Regions from separate parts of the Homo sapiens genome. Here regions 2, 3, 4 and 5 are each linked to region 1. The links are contacts of gene promoters, found by promoter capture Hi-C in blood cells and fetal thymus (Javierre and others, 2016). All regions are on one chromosome and are shown on one strand. Each heading gives the region's core, a stretch centred on a gene start or on the middle of the fragment in contact. The rest is flanking DNA. Distances are from core to core; before and after follow the strand shown.

What was found. The method cuts DNA at HindIII sites, captures the fragments that hold promoters and counts their contacts. A CHiCAGO score of 5 or more calls a contact.
Region 2: a fragment that was not itself captured here is called in contact with the fragment with the promoter of COLEC12 in region 1 in 4 of 17 cell types (M1 macrophages, M2 macrophages, M0 macrophages and 1 more); the score reaches 11.0 in M1 macrophages.
Region 3: a contact is called between the fragment with the promoter of CLUL1 here and the fragment with the promoter of COLEC12 in region 1, in 4 of 17 cell types (M1 macrophages, M2 macrophages, M0 macrophages and 1 more). The highest score is 11.8, in M1 macrophages.
Region 4: a contact is called between a fragment that was not itself captured here and the fragment with the promoter of COLEC12 in region 1, in 4 of 17 cell types (M2 macrophages, M1 macrophages, M0 macrophages and 1 more). The highest score is 10.1, in M2 macrophages.
Region 5: a fragment that was not itself captured here is called in contact with the fragment with the promoter of COLEC12 in region 1 in 3 of 17 cell types (M2 macrophages, M1 macrophages and M0 macrophages); the score reaches 7.3 in M2 macrophages.

What each region holds. Positions count from the first base shown.
Region 1 is chr18:499,293-502,034 of GRCh38, reverse strand. COLEC12 (collectin subfamily member 12) reads left to right here and starts at 1,334. Exons shown (of 10, transcript NM_130386.3): 1 at 1,334-1,527. The coding sequence starts at 1,521. The HindIII fragment of the contact is 13,067 bases long and covers 1-2,742 here.
Region 2 is chr18:396,829-399,570 of GRCh38, reverse strand. The region is part of intron 2 of COLEC12 (collectin subfamily member 12); the gene reads left to right. The region is part of intron 1 of LOC107985155 (a long non-coding RNA gene); the gene reads right to left. Among named protein-coding and RNA genes, the nearest start is that of COLEC12, 100 kb to the left of the region's middle. The HindIII fragment of the contact is 2,733 bases long and covers 1-2,711 here.
Region 3 is chr18:595,593-598,334 of GRCh38, reverse strand. It overlaps CLUL1 (clusterin like 1), which reads right to left and starts at 1,347. Exons shown (of 10, transcript NM_001393344.1): 1 at 1,206-1,347. RefSeq lists an enhancer at 367-866 and silencers at 1,289-1,408, 1,469-1,598. The HindIII fragment of the contact is 7,229 bases long and covers 1-2,742 here.
Region 4 is chr18:413,334-416,075 of GRCh38, reverse strand. The region is part of intron 2 of COLEC12 (collectin subfamily member 12); the gene reads left to right. Among named protein-coding and RNA genes, the nearest start is that of COLEC12, 86 kb to the left of the region's middle. The HindIII fragment of the contact is 914 bases long and covers 933-1,846 here.
Region 5 is chr18:573,523-576,264 of GRCh38, reverse strand. No RefSeq gene overlaps it. Among named protein-coding and RNA genes, the nearest start is that of CETN1, 5.5 kb to the left of the region's middle. The HindIII fragment of the contact is 5,186 bases long and covers 1-2,742 here.

The sequences.
Region 1 (2,742 bases), core at 85-2,584:
TATCCTAAGCTCCCTTCAGGGATCCCCATTTGCCCTGAAAGACAAGGCTGGTGCCCCAGTGAGATCTGAAACATGCTCCAGGACCAGGACCCTGTAGTTTCATCAACTGCAGACAGTGCGGGGGAAAAAGCATTTCGGTCTTTTCATTTGTTCGTCATGTTCAAGGTGCCCCCTTATGTTAAAAAATTAAAAAAAAAAAAAAAGAAAGAAAAAAGAAATCTCCTGGAACGGAGAATCTATGAAATGTTTCAATATGTATTCATTTTGGGGCACTACCTTTTACTAGAGCAAAGAATCCCCTACTTAGAGGGAACCAATGGATTGGTTACACCGTGTTACCAAGTCCTCAGGAGGGCAAACTGAAAAGCTGCAAGCACTGCCCGGCCAGTGTTCGATTGCTTTTGGTGGACTAGTGCGTCTGAGTAGCCATCTGTAATGTCAACATGTGGCAGAAAGTTTCTCCGCACCTCCCTCGCCCCAGCTCCACTCACCACTTAGTGTATGTTTTAAAGCAATAAAGCGATGGGTCTGCTTAGAGGGGGTTCTAAAGAGAAAGATAAACACGGGCTTTATTAAGTATACAGCAGGGCAATGTGACGGGCGACCACGAAGGGAACTCAGGGAGCCTCTCAGCAGCCCGGCCTCCTTTCGTAACAAAACTGGAGTCAACCCGATCATTTTAGGGGCGCTGGGTGGAAGGCTGGCTTTTCCAGCCAAGGCAGGATGTGCTGGCTTTTTCTCTGGAGGTGTCCAAGAGCGCAGAGAGAGTGTCTAATGGTGACTTCGGATTCTGGCCACTCGGGCTCTCCCTGGGTGACAGAGAGAGTGTTCCCTGCTGCTTGGTCTCCTTCAGGCGTCAACCAGCGCACGCACTTGGAAACTCTGAACCCGGAGGACGTTCTGTACCTCTCCATGCCCCAGAGCCGTTTGGGGAAGGGCCCACCTTACCCCCCGCCACCCCCGGGGCACAGCAGCTCCCCATCCTCTCGCCCAACACTTGCTAGGTAGTTTGGGGTGTAGAAGCGACCCCAGCAGCAGCGGCACCTTAGGTGCTCGCCGAAGGTGAACGCTGGACCGCCCCGGGAAGGGCTTTGCTCCCGACTTCATCCCGACGCTGGTGCAACGGGAAAAAGAGAGAGCCCGCGCGAGTGGGGCCAGGGCGCGCAGGAGAGGGCGGGCGAGAAAGTGCCCGGCGAGGGCAGGCGCGGGCCGAGGGCGGGGCGGGCGCGGGAGGGCGCGAGAGGGGCGTGGGCGCGGCCGCTCGCTCGGCCGGGTCGGGCCAGGGGGAGGGGCGCTGGGAGAGCGAGAGCGGCGCGCGCGGCAGCCCCGAGGCAGCAGAGCGCGGAGCCGGGAGCGCGGGGAGCGCGGGCCGGCGGCGGCGAGGGAGGACGGGGGCGCAGACGGCCGGCGCGCGGCGCGGCTACCATGGGCGTGCGGTGAGCAGCCGCTCGGGACGACTTCCTCGGCTGCGCGGCGCTCGCGCGGAGCTCCCCGGCCGGCGGTGCGTCCCCACGGTCACCATGAAAGGTAGGGCGGCGGCAGCTCCGCGGGGCTCTGGGCGGGGGGAACGGGCTTCGGGGCGCGCGGGAGGCCACGGAGGTGCCTCCCGCGCGAACCTTCCCTTGGGCTGCGGGCCCGGGGAGTCGGGGCTGCCAGGGCGCCGGGTTCGTGCGCGGACACTGGGGGCGCACCCGGCTCCCGGGTCAGGCGCGGCTGGAGACCTCGAGGTTGGGGTTTTGAAGCGCGCAAGTATTCCCCTCCCCATCGCGTCTTTGCAAGTAGTTTGAAGCCCTAAGTCGTTGTTTACGGATTCCCGTTTCCAACTTTTTAATTGAAAAAACCTGCCGAGGAGAGTGGAGGCATCGCCATCCCTCCCGGTCGCTTTTCCACGCCGCAGCGCTCCCCACGCTCGCCCAGTCCTCTCTCCTCCCGCCTCTAGCCGTTTCCCGGCCCGAGCGGTCCCCGCGCTGGCGGCCGGGTGTTTTCTCCGGGACTGGGGATGTTCTCCGTGCGCCCTCGCCACATCTGGCAATGATTAGGTGCCCGAGGAGTTCAGCTGGCTCGGGAAGTGCATTTGGCATCTTTCTCCATCAGATTCACCGACTGGAAAATAGTTGCCCTCGGTTCCGCGTCCCTTCCACGTGCCCGCCTTGGGGTGTGCCCACTGGTGTTTTGGGGTGACACACCTCAGCTGGTTAGTCGCCCCCTGCGCGGTGTCCTCTGCAGGCCGGTTTATGGAAGTGTCAGATGTTATCGTACTTTAGAAAGAAGCACGAGAAGGACTGCAGGGCAGCCTTCTGTTTAGTGGAAACACGGAGATTTGTCAGCGGAATCCTGATTTATGTATGAGATAAGTAACCGCAGCGGAGGCATCAAAGAGTCGTTCAGGAATGGGCCCGCGTGGTGTTTACACAAGGCTTCGTGTGAGAGTTGCTGGTTCTGTGCTAGGATAACACAGCCCTGCGTGGGTGCGAAATGCCATCTGACCGCGGTCACCCCGCTTCCAGCCGCCACAGACCTGGCGATGCAATCGCTTTGACTTCTAGGGTTGCCGTCCGAGGGAGGCGCCCGGGAAGCCCCAAGGCGCTTGGAAAGTAACTTTTGGCTCTGGAAAGTTTTTTTTCTGAAGGGCAGCTCCCGCGGAACTAACCGGAGCGATGATATCCTACCAATTCACTCCCTTTCCAAGGGCGTTAGGTGTCCACGTCGGGAGACCTCGGGAAGGGAGGTGACTGATGGCCA
Region 2 (2,742 bases), core at 96-2,595, 100 kb after region 1:
TGTGCTCCATTCCCCAGCATATCCCCAGGGCCTGACACTTAGGAGGAGGTCAATAAATATTTGCTAAATGAATACATTAGTGAATGACACGGTAGGAAACAGCAGAGTGTGGCCTGCTCTTGGAGCTGGTTTGACAAGGAAGGATTCCAGCTATCAGGGAGTGGCTGGGCAGGGGCACAGAGCTGCGCGCTACACAGTGATGAGAACCCTTCCAAAAAGCCTCTCGTCTGGCCTGCTTTCCTGGCCCTTGCCACACACACAAGGTCTGTGGTGCTGGTGGTGCCCATTCCAGTAGTCTGAAGTTCATTCCATCAATAGCATCTTACGCTTAGCCTGAGACCCACGTAGCAGAAAAATCTCAACTTCAGACACCGCTGTGCGTTTTTTGGATAGTGTTTCAGATTGGGGTTTTTTTGTGTTGTTTTTGGTTCCTTTGCTTTTTAAACAGTTCCTTGAGCTGCTGACAGAGTAGCCCAGTGTACATGGGTGGTCCCAAAATGCTTTGCACTATTTGGACCTACTCTGTTGTATTACATGGGTAACAAGATCAGAGGAATTTGGATGTGTTTAGGTTAGGATTTAGATCTGGATACTACATATAGACCTGCTTTTAATTCCCTCTTTCCTTCTTGTATTATTTAAGTCCATGGACACTTAGAATCAATATATAAACATCTCCAAGAAGCACAAAAAGAAGCAGCATGTGGAACGTGAGGTCAAAGCTGTCAGCTCACATTTCCCCTCCCCAGAAAAGCCCGGAGATTTTGGAGTTCCTCAGTACATGTCTTCAGTTGGCTTCAATGTCAGTTTGCTTCTTGTTCTTTATATAATTGTTGACTTCTTTGAAGTTCATTATAGACATCACTAAGTCAGATAGTCCCACATTATAAGCAGACTCTTCTAATTCTTCTGCAGTGTGAATTTGCTTTTCCCATCTGTGAGATTTCCCTGTGACTGGCCCACTGACAGTCAGTTGCCTGCATCAGGGACCGCTGAGTGTACAGAGCTGCTTCTTTCCTTCAGAGGGAGGCTCAGACCTGGAGAGGGGACCACATTCAAAAGAGCCGATTGTTTTCAAGCATTGGAGAAGCAGCTCCAGAAAATCCTTGCCTGGCAACATTGGAGAAATGCGCTGATCTTGTGTTTTTACCATAGAAGTGGTTGGAAAGGGGAATTTGCTGCTGGTTCCTTTCATCTTGATGGTGGTTGCTTTTCTTGGATAAAGTCACAAAATTCTTCTGAAACTAGAAATTGTGACCCTTGATATTAAAAAGGTATATAAGGGCTCTAATTTTTTCAAACCTACTATGGGGTGACAAAATCCATTTACTGAAGGTATTAAGACTGCAGATAATATTTCTGCTGAATAAGAAGCAGTGTGGACTAATGGGAAGAGACACAACATATTCTTCTCCAGTTTCTCATAGTTTCGATGCTTTCTTGAAAGTGCCTGTGAGGCAAAGATGCATGAAGACATGTTCTGCTTTTTGCTGTTTTTTTGTGTTTTTTTGGTAACATAGAAAGTTAGGTCATAGACCTGGGCCATGGACCTGTGTAAGTATTTAAGACATTTGGACATATTTTGTATCTGTAACTTCCCTTCCCTTTTTAAAAAGTTCTCTAAACTAGAAATGGTGTAGATATGGAATCAACTGTGAAACTATCCTTCTCTGGCAGCTCCAAAATCCTTTACATTTTTTCCTGGCTGGGTGACACGATTTTAACCCTAACTGAATGGGCCAATCTTTGGCCTTTTCTACAAGTTCTCAAATTCAAGGGCAGAGAGTCTAGTGGACCTGGATACTTGTACCGGGTTAAATGGACTTATCAGTGAGGTATTATCTAGCTTTAACCTTCACAAGATGGACACATGGCTTAAAAAGCCTCCTCTGAAGAAACCATGGGTTAAAGATAGACTAATAACACAGGCCACCCAAAAAACCAAACTGACAAAAACAGCAAAGGTAGCACTTCTGCTCCCCTTCCCAAAAGCTCTTTGCCAGACACCATTACAAGAAAGAAAGACTGATGATCTGATGTGCCAAGCAGCTGGCCAAAACAAAGAAACAAAAAACCCTTCAAAATTATAAAAATCTAACTAGGACACAGGGATGAAAAATCTACATCTATAATTGTTATCATATATCTTACACTCAAAGTATATTTTGCGCCTTGGACTATTAAGTAATGATAATGGCCTGTGTAGATAATTTATTAGGTCCCAAATAAATAATGAATAAAATAGAGCATGGGGTGGGGGTGTATGTTCAAAATGCTTGGAACCTACTGCTTAGGGAATGTCATTGACTAAGGTTGATGTTCAAAAGTAGGGGTGGTGGCCTCAGAGGACAAACCTGCCTGCAAACAAAGTCTGAATGGATGATAGAAGCCACGGATAAGAGGGAAAGAACTTGGAGGACATACTGTACAAATCAGAAGGACAGGAAATCTCCTTGTCTTTCTATAGATACACAGAACTAAGGAAGGATCCAGGGAAAGTAGACACAAACTCAACAAAGCAACAAGGTCCATCCAAGATCTGGTTCCAGAGCTGACTGGGCATTCCAGGTCACTTGACAGATGGTGGTAGGAGATGCATTCGTGGGACCTGGGTGGTGTACATCACCCAGGCTGGCCTCTCCAACCTGCCCTCAGTGCAGTCCAACATTGAGAACACAGGCAAAGGTGGAGAGTGGGTTTTGACTCAAGCTTTTGGCCTCTTGCATTTAATCATCCAAGTGT
Region 3 (2,742 bases), core at 98-2,597, 96 kb before region 1:
GATCATCGTGACTTTCTTCAAGGTCACGCAAAGTTTAAGTGATTTTTACTGTCCCACATTCCAGCATGTCCTCTTCTATGCATTCATTTCCCATGGTAGTTCATCATTCTCTATTTATGGCATTTTTATTAGGTAACAGTATCTCATCTCTTCCCGATAATTGTGCTGCTGCATATTTTTAGAAACTTTTCCACCCGCCATTGTCAGGGACTGAGGAGTTGCATTAATGTTGAGTTTGAAAATTCTGTTCTTGCATCAGGCAGGTAAAAGTGGCCTTATTAGTATTTCTGTTTTCAATGTCTGGAGAAAAGTCCCAGGGAGAGAAAAACAAGATAAAGCATCATGTTGTCCACTGGTAAAATCTGTACGTGGAAAGTAGGCTAAGCTAGAGTAATCGGTTTAAGGTAGCAGTTAATAGTGTCTGCAGCTCTTTACTTCGTTAACCTCAGTTAACCAGGACCTGGCACAATGGGGATTGAAATCAGGGGGCTTATCCACAGTTTCCTCAAATACTGATTTTATCAAGTTGGGCTGATAATTCCATAAACTGTATGAGCATTGATAGTTAGATGTGATCGTTTTCAGAGTGATTCTTTTTCTGCTTGGGTTTATTTATTTATTTATTTTGAGACAGAATCTCACTGTGTTGTCCAGGCTGGAGTGCAGTGGCGCAATCTCGGCTCACTGCAACCTCCGCCTCCCGGGTTCAAGCGATTCTCCTGCCTCAGCCTCCCAAGTAGATGGGATTACAAGCATGCACCACCACAATCGACTAATTTTTGTGTTTCACCATGCCGGCCAGGCTGGCCTCCAACTCCTGACCTCAAGTGATCGGCCCCCCTCGGCCTCCCAAAGTGTTGAGATTACAGGCGTGAGCCACCACACCCGGCTCCGCTTAGTTTTTGCCAGTAGTTTTGCAGGGATGGTGTGTCTCCCCGCCTCTACCTCCTCCTCCTGTTTTGAAAAAGAGAATAAACGTATTGGAACAGCCCAGGAGATTGCCTGAGTTTTGCTGGCAGCCTCTGAAGCAGCCCACAGTATTTCTACCTTCCCCGGCAAGAACAGTGGCTTTGTTCTGTCCGCGCCGGAGGGGCCGGGCGTCTGCGGAGCTCGGCCTTGGACTTGGGAGCGGCTTTCTCTGGCTCTCCGGAGAAATGGGCAAGAGCGGCGAGGAGAGAAATCTGGGGCCCGGAGGATGTTCTCACCTGTCATTCCTAAGATGCGCTTGAGTGCTGCCCCCTGGAGGCGTCTGTGCCACCGGCTGGAAGTCAGCCGAGGGCACAGGGTGTCAGCAACCTCCAGGGTGGAAACCAACCCCGCGGCCCGGGCCTGCAGGTGACGCAGGGTGGGCGGGGCCTGCAGACGCCGGGTGGGCGGGGCCTGCAGGTGACGCCGGGTGGGCGGGGCCTGCAGACGCCGGGTGGGCGGGGCCTGCAGGTGACGCCGGGTGGGCGGGGCCTGCAGACGCCGGGTGGGCGGGGCCTGCAGGTGACGCCGGGTGGGCGGGGCCTGCAGACGCCGGGTGGGCGGGACCTGCAGGTGACGCCGGGTGGGCGGGGCCTGCAGAGGACCTGCGCGTCCGGATCTGAAGCGAGCAGAGCCCTCTCTACTCCAGCTGAACGGTGATGGTCGTCAGGAAGGAATGTGGGCTCACTGTGGAAAGAACATTCAGTTTTTCAAAAGAAGACAGAAATAGGGATGCTTATGTGAAATTCCTGATTTTTCAAACTTGGCAACTTAATTCAGTTAAAAAAAAAAAAGCATTTCTATGGCAGGACCACGAGTCATAGGTAGAACGCCTTGTACACATTAGAAAGAGAGCCTCGCTCTGGGCAGATAAAGCAGGAGGGGAAAAAAGTAGTGGGTCAAAGGTGCCTCTGAGCAGTTGCTCCCCTGCCCGACTGCTGGGCTTAATGCGATGGTCATGGCTGGATGTCAGCCTCCCTGTGGGGACACTGACACAGCTGCAGCAGCCCTGAGAGAGTCGCCAAGTGGGCCTGCCCATGCCAGGTGCTGTCCTTGGGCCCCAGGTTCACAAACTCTGGATGCTGGAACAGGTAGCCAGAGAGGGCAGGAAAGGCAGTGCAACTTGCAAGTCTACCCTTGTTAAAGGGCCCTACAATTGTAAAATTTCATGCCCCCCATATCCCAAACATCCTCTCCGTATTCCTGGATGATGAACGTTGGCTTGGGAGGCATGTTTACTCTAGGCAATATTTTTCTGAGGTTATTATACTCTGTGTGTGAGGAAGATTCATCTATGTATCCACTTTATCTTTTGGGAGTACATTTCACCTGTTGTTATTTTTAACATCTTCCCTTGATTGACCTGCTCGTGCTGGACCTCTTTAAATTATTTCTAATTCTGACAACATCCTGACAAGGTAATATAATTCCACTTACTTTACAAATAAAGACACTGAGGCTTCAAGAAGTAATTTTTCCCCAGACCAGCTAGGAAATGGCTGTGCAGAGCTTCAAACCCAGGTCTGTCTTACTAGGAGGCTGATGACTTTGATACTTCTACCTGAGATGGCAAAGTCTGTGTCTCTTCTCCCTGACGTCATCTAATGAAGATCTATGCTGTCTGAGCACTTAATGCCTAAGAATCTTCCATTTGGTGCCTTCCCCTTTCCCCTTTTTATATCTTTATAAATTTAACAACAGCTCTTTTGTATAGCAAAGAATGCATCTTTGTGGCACATAACTTTAAAAATAATAACATCACCAGATGCACACATC
Region 4 (2,742 bases), core at 140-2,639, 86 kb after region 1:
ACCCACATCTACTAGCATGATGATAACTCAGTTAAAGGTTGTGAAAATCAGTAGTCTGACAAGGAACTAGTACTATTGATTATCATTTCTCATTATTTTTCTTCAGTCCAAACTTATTTTAAGCCAAACATATTCAACACCAAAGTATTGAGTAGTTGAAGAAAGGCAGATGTGCATTACAGTGTAATTAGGTTCATAAGTTACTATGACAGGCAACTGAATAAACCTCAGTGTTACTGCACATTTTGCCAGAAAAGTTGTGAAGCTATTTTTTCCACTTCTCTTAGATCCTGAAGAGCCACTTCCTTTTCTCTGCTGACACATACCTGCTTGCCCCAGTGCCTTGGAGGAACTTCCAAAGGTCTAAATGAAAAGCCTTTTAAATTTCTTAGAAGTCATGAAGTCATGACTTCGTACATACAGCCCAATGTGTGTAGATGACAAGAGGGGCAACTTTTACAAATTTAAGTCAATTTTATAGCCATCTGTTGTAGGGGATACAAATATTAGTCTATGACAGGTAAACAATTATAGTTCAGTAAGCCACAATAACAGCATCTTGTACAAAATGATGTGATGGTGCAGAGAAGCTCTTGAGGAGGGTGGTAAGGAGTTAGGCCTAACTTGCATCTAGAGACTGGAATTTATATCTGGGATGGAGTTAGCTTTGTAACGATTTAGGCGCTACCTCATCCCTAGGCCTAGGAGAAGAGATATCACAATGATACAAGGAAAAGGCAGCAGTAACTGAGGATAGAAAATCTAGGTAGGAGCCCTCGTTCTGCGGTTTGCTAGTTCCTGACTTCGAGTTGTCTGGTCACTTTAGTGAGGGGGTAGTTGCCTTATCTGTAAAATGGAAACGGCATTAATTCCCACATCACACAGAACTGTTGCTGCAATCAAATGAAATAATGTTAGTAAACTGCAAAGCTTCCTGCAAATGTTTGCCATTGCCTTGGCTCTCCAGTGTATGTAATGCTGGTGACATAAATAATAGCTTCATTCCGTGTTTGCACTGATGCATTTTGAATGTAACCTTTGAAAATTAGGATCCTCTTGTCTTTGGGACAGTAGTTTTATTAGGTGCAGAGAAGCATTTGAATATTCCAAGTGAAATATTAGGAAATAACTCCTGCAATCCTTCCTTGCTTTGCAGGTGATTGCACAGTTTTAAAAGGTGCTTGAAATCTCTTGGCCACACTCACAAATGTATTACTGGACCTTAATCAGCAGTTCTAGAGAAGCAGCACCTGTTTGCTGTGGTCTGCAGGCTGGGTGTCTGAGAACAAGCCTGTTTGGGGGTTAGAGGCCCAGCTTTATCCTTGGGCAAGTCACTTCATCTCTGGGCCGCCCTTTCCTAACTTCAGATTCAGAGGTCAAACCCACTGATAATTAAGGGCTCTTCTATCCTTAAAGATCTGTGTTTGCATAAGAGTTCGGTTTTGTTTTTTGTTTTTTGTTTGTTTGTTTGTTTTCTGAGACACAGTTTCACTCTTGTTGCCCAGGCTGGAGTGCAATGGCATGATCTCGGCTCACTGCAACCTCCGCCTCCCGGGTTCAAGTGATTCTCCTGCCTCAGCCTCCCAAGTAGCTAGGATTACAGGCATGTGCCACCATGCTCAGCTAATTTTGTATTTTTAGTAGAGTCGAGGTTTCACCATGTTGGTCAGGCTGGTCTCAAACTCCTGACCTCAGGTACCTCAGGTGATCCACCCGCCTCGGCCTCCCAAAGTGCTAGGATTACAGGTGTGAGCCACCGCGCCCGACCCAAGTTTGGTTTTTGTTCATTTATTTTGTTTTGCTTTTGCTTACTCTCTTTACCAATTTGCAAGTCACCCCTGAAGCTTCCCATTTGAAAATTAAATTTTATTTTGGAAATCATTGTAAATTCACATGCAGTTGCAAGAAATAATATGGAGTTCCTATGTACCCCTTACCCAGTTCCTCCCAGTGGTAACATCTTACAAAACTGTAGTACAGTATCACAACCAGAATATTGACACTGACAAAGTCAAGATACAAAAAATGCCTGTTATCACAAAGATTCCACATATTTTCTTCCCCTTTCCTCCACCTACTTCTTCATCACTGGCAACCACTAATATGTTCTCCATTTCTATAGTTTTGTCATTTCAAGAATGTTGTATCAATGGAATCATAGAGTATATAACCATTCATGATTGGTGTTCCCCAACCCCACTGAGCATAATTGTCTAGAGATTCATTAAGACTGTTGCATGTATTAGTACTTCATTCCTTTTTATTGGTGAGTAGTATTCCATCAGGTTATATGTACTGTATCATAGTTTATTTAGCTATTCACTGTCTAAGGACATCTGAATTATTTCCAGGTTGGGGGCATTATGAATAAAACTGCTGTAAACATTCACGTACAGATGCTTTTTTAAATTTTTTATAGAGATGGGGTCTCATTATGTTGCCTAGGCTGGTCTTGAGCTCCTGGCCTCAAACAGTTCTCCTGCCTTGGCCTCCGAAAGTGCTGGGATCGTAGCACTGTGCCTGACCAGTATGTACATATTTTTGTGTAAACATAAATCATCCTTCTCTAGAATAAGTGCCTAGAAGTGAAATTGCTGAGTCATATAGCCATTGTATGTTCCATTGTTTTAGAAACTGCCAAACTATTTTCCAGAGTGACTGTACCATTTTACATTCTCACCAGCAGCATATGAGTGATCTAGCTTTCTTACATCCTCTCCAGCATTTGTGGGGTCACCGTTT
Region 5 (2,742 bases), core at 146-2,645, 74 kb before region 1:
GTATTTTTAGTGGAGACGGGGTTTCACCATGTTGGTCAGGCTGGTCTCAAACTCCTGACCTTGTGATCCGCCTGCCTCGGCCTCCCAGAGTGCTGGGATTACAGGCGTGAGCCACCGGGCCCGGCCGCTTATTTCCTTCTTACTGTGCATGTGCTAAAAATAGAGGGGAGGTGGAGCCCCCAGGGTGGACATTCCTGGCCCCAGGTACCTCTTTCTAACTGTGCAGCTTCTGGCATCCCCTCGTGCAAGTTTCCAGCTTCCTTATCTATGTTTGCAGCCCGATCTCCCAGGCTGCTCTTTGTTAGAAAAGAAGGGATTTCTTGGGCTGTTCTTTGTTAGCAGGGAAGTTCTGCCGAGGACTCTTTTGCCCTCATTATCTGCTTAAAATAATTTCTGTCTCCAGTATCACTTGCCTTATGTTCCTGCTCTAAAGCGTTTTAATAAACGCTCTGAAACTTGCCTCAGTCTCTTTTTCTGCCGTATGACCCTGAGTTGAATTCTTTCTTCTGAGGATGTAGGAATTGAGGTTGCTGCAGACCCATACGGATTCTATTAAGGTAACTTGGATATTCGCTACTAGTGATACATTTTGGTGCCACGTGACTCGGATACCTTCTGCTGCTAACAATTTTCTTCCCTACACATAACAATAATTAAGCATCTTGCCTAGAAGGATTGAACAGGAATTTGTAGGATCTAAGACAGGGTCCCATTCTGGGGCGAGTCACTGAACCTGCAATATGCTTAGTATTTACATCTGTTCTTCCTCCATTCCACTTCACCCCATTCCCTGCTTTCAACTCTGTATATGAGCTGGGGAAAGCAATCTGGGCAAAATGCCTTTGCTTGGCATTAGTGAAAGTCTATACAAGGCATGTGAAAATCAGCTTTATTACTTTAAAAGTAATTTTTAAGTTCTAGTGAGACTGACATAAAATAAACGAGACATCCTAGAAAATCAGTGGAGATGGGCGGGTTTCTGTTTGTTTTTGGGTTTTTGGGGGGCCCTCAATTTTTTTTTTTTTTTGTACCACAATGTCCTAAGTATTATGCAAAATCAGTGATTGATTCTCTGAGAGGGGGAGAGGAGATGGTTGTTTAAGTCCAGTCATGGAGACTTAACAGCTGGAAGAGGGGAGAAAAGAAGCACTGGAATTCCACAACAGGGTCTGGAGTCCGTTGAGACCAAGAGAAAGGACTCACAGCTTGCTTATGCTGATTATTTGGTTTTCCATTTGACTTGCATGGCATGAAAAAGGTGCGGCTCAGGAGCCTTTTAAAGTTGCACTCAGCAAATTCAGCAAATTCCAGGTGCCACCCAAGGCAGAAAACATGCACAATACAGCTTCTTTACTGCTGCTTATTTACTTTCCAACAAATGCAGAACAGAGAAAATGTGAATGCTGGGTGCTGCTCCTACAAACCAGGATAACTGTGCTGGGGCTGTAGAGGGGGATCCCAAAACCATCACTAACAGAGCTGAATTATTTATTCTTAAATATGTGGAGCCAGTTACAAGAAATGGACTCAGCAGCAAAAGGTTTTACAGTCCCAGTGGTCTCTGAATGGGAATTTGAAGTCAAGTCCAGTGACTCAACCCAAGTCTTTTTGGCAAGTCCAGGAACACATTTAAGTGTCCAGCCAAGGGCTACATGATTCCTTATTCCATGAACACCCGAAATAAGAAAATACTCCTCTCAGATACAAAAGCAGACTTTTCTAAAAAGATTTGCCAGAATTTCACACGGTTTCTCAAACTTTCACCCAAATATTCCTAATAGCAAAGGAGAGTTGAAAGCTATCCCCTGAGATACAGGGAACTATTTGAAAGAAACCTGCAAAAAGCATCAAATGTCTTTATAATCCTGTGTTTCAGCTTTTTAAAAAGTGAATGTTGCTTTCTGTTTCATAGTGCATTTGCTGGTTCTATGATAGTTTTAAATGACTGACCATTCCAAAAAAGTACACATTGCTTATTTTATGACTTTAAATGGTCTCCAAGGACATGACCGGGGTTGCAGAACCTTATATGTTTTAGCAAACACGGATGTGGGATTTAATGTGGGGCTTGAGGTGAATAAAATAAAGATCTACAATGTTTCTCACCCCTACCCAACCCCTATCTGCTCCACTTATACCCCATTTGGGTTTGGGAGTCAAAGAAGGGAAAGGATGGAAAAGTGTGAGGAGGAAGGGAAGGAAGAATGAAACTCCAGGGCATTTTGAACTTGTTAGGTGGAGTAAAATTAAATGCATCCAGTGAAAGAATGACTGCCCTCTCCCCTTCTTTCCCAGATCCCAGATCAGCCCCCAATTAAGCATTGCTTTGATGGAAACAGGCTGAGAAAAGACAAGATCTATGTTGACATAAACTCCAAGCAGAACCTCATGGGGTTTGCAATTCGGCAGTTGTCCCACCCTGTAAGTGGTCTTCAGAGCGCCCACCAGGTGCAGGCATCCACAGAAAATGCAGAACCAGGAGGCCCAGGAGTGGCTTCATTGGATTTTTAAATCTCATTTTAAACCAATAGCTCATAGACTGAGCTATTGGTTACTCTTTGATCCACCTTTTCTTCTCCAAGGGCCCTGGAACGTCAGGATCTAAAGCTGGCTCTGAGGCTGTTAACTGAGAATTTTTCACTCACCAGAGGTTGAAAGGTCAGAAGCCCACAGTGGTGTTAGGTAACACAGAATAAGCCAAATGGGCTGCCTGTGAAGGGTGGATTTAGGGATTAACAGTGA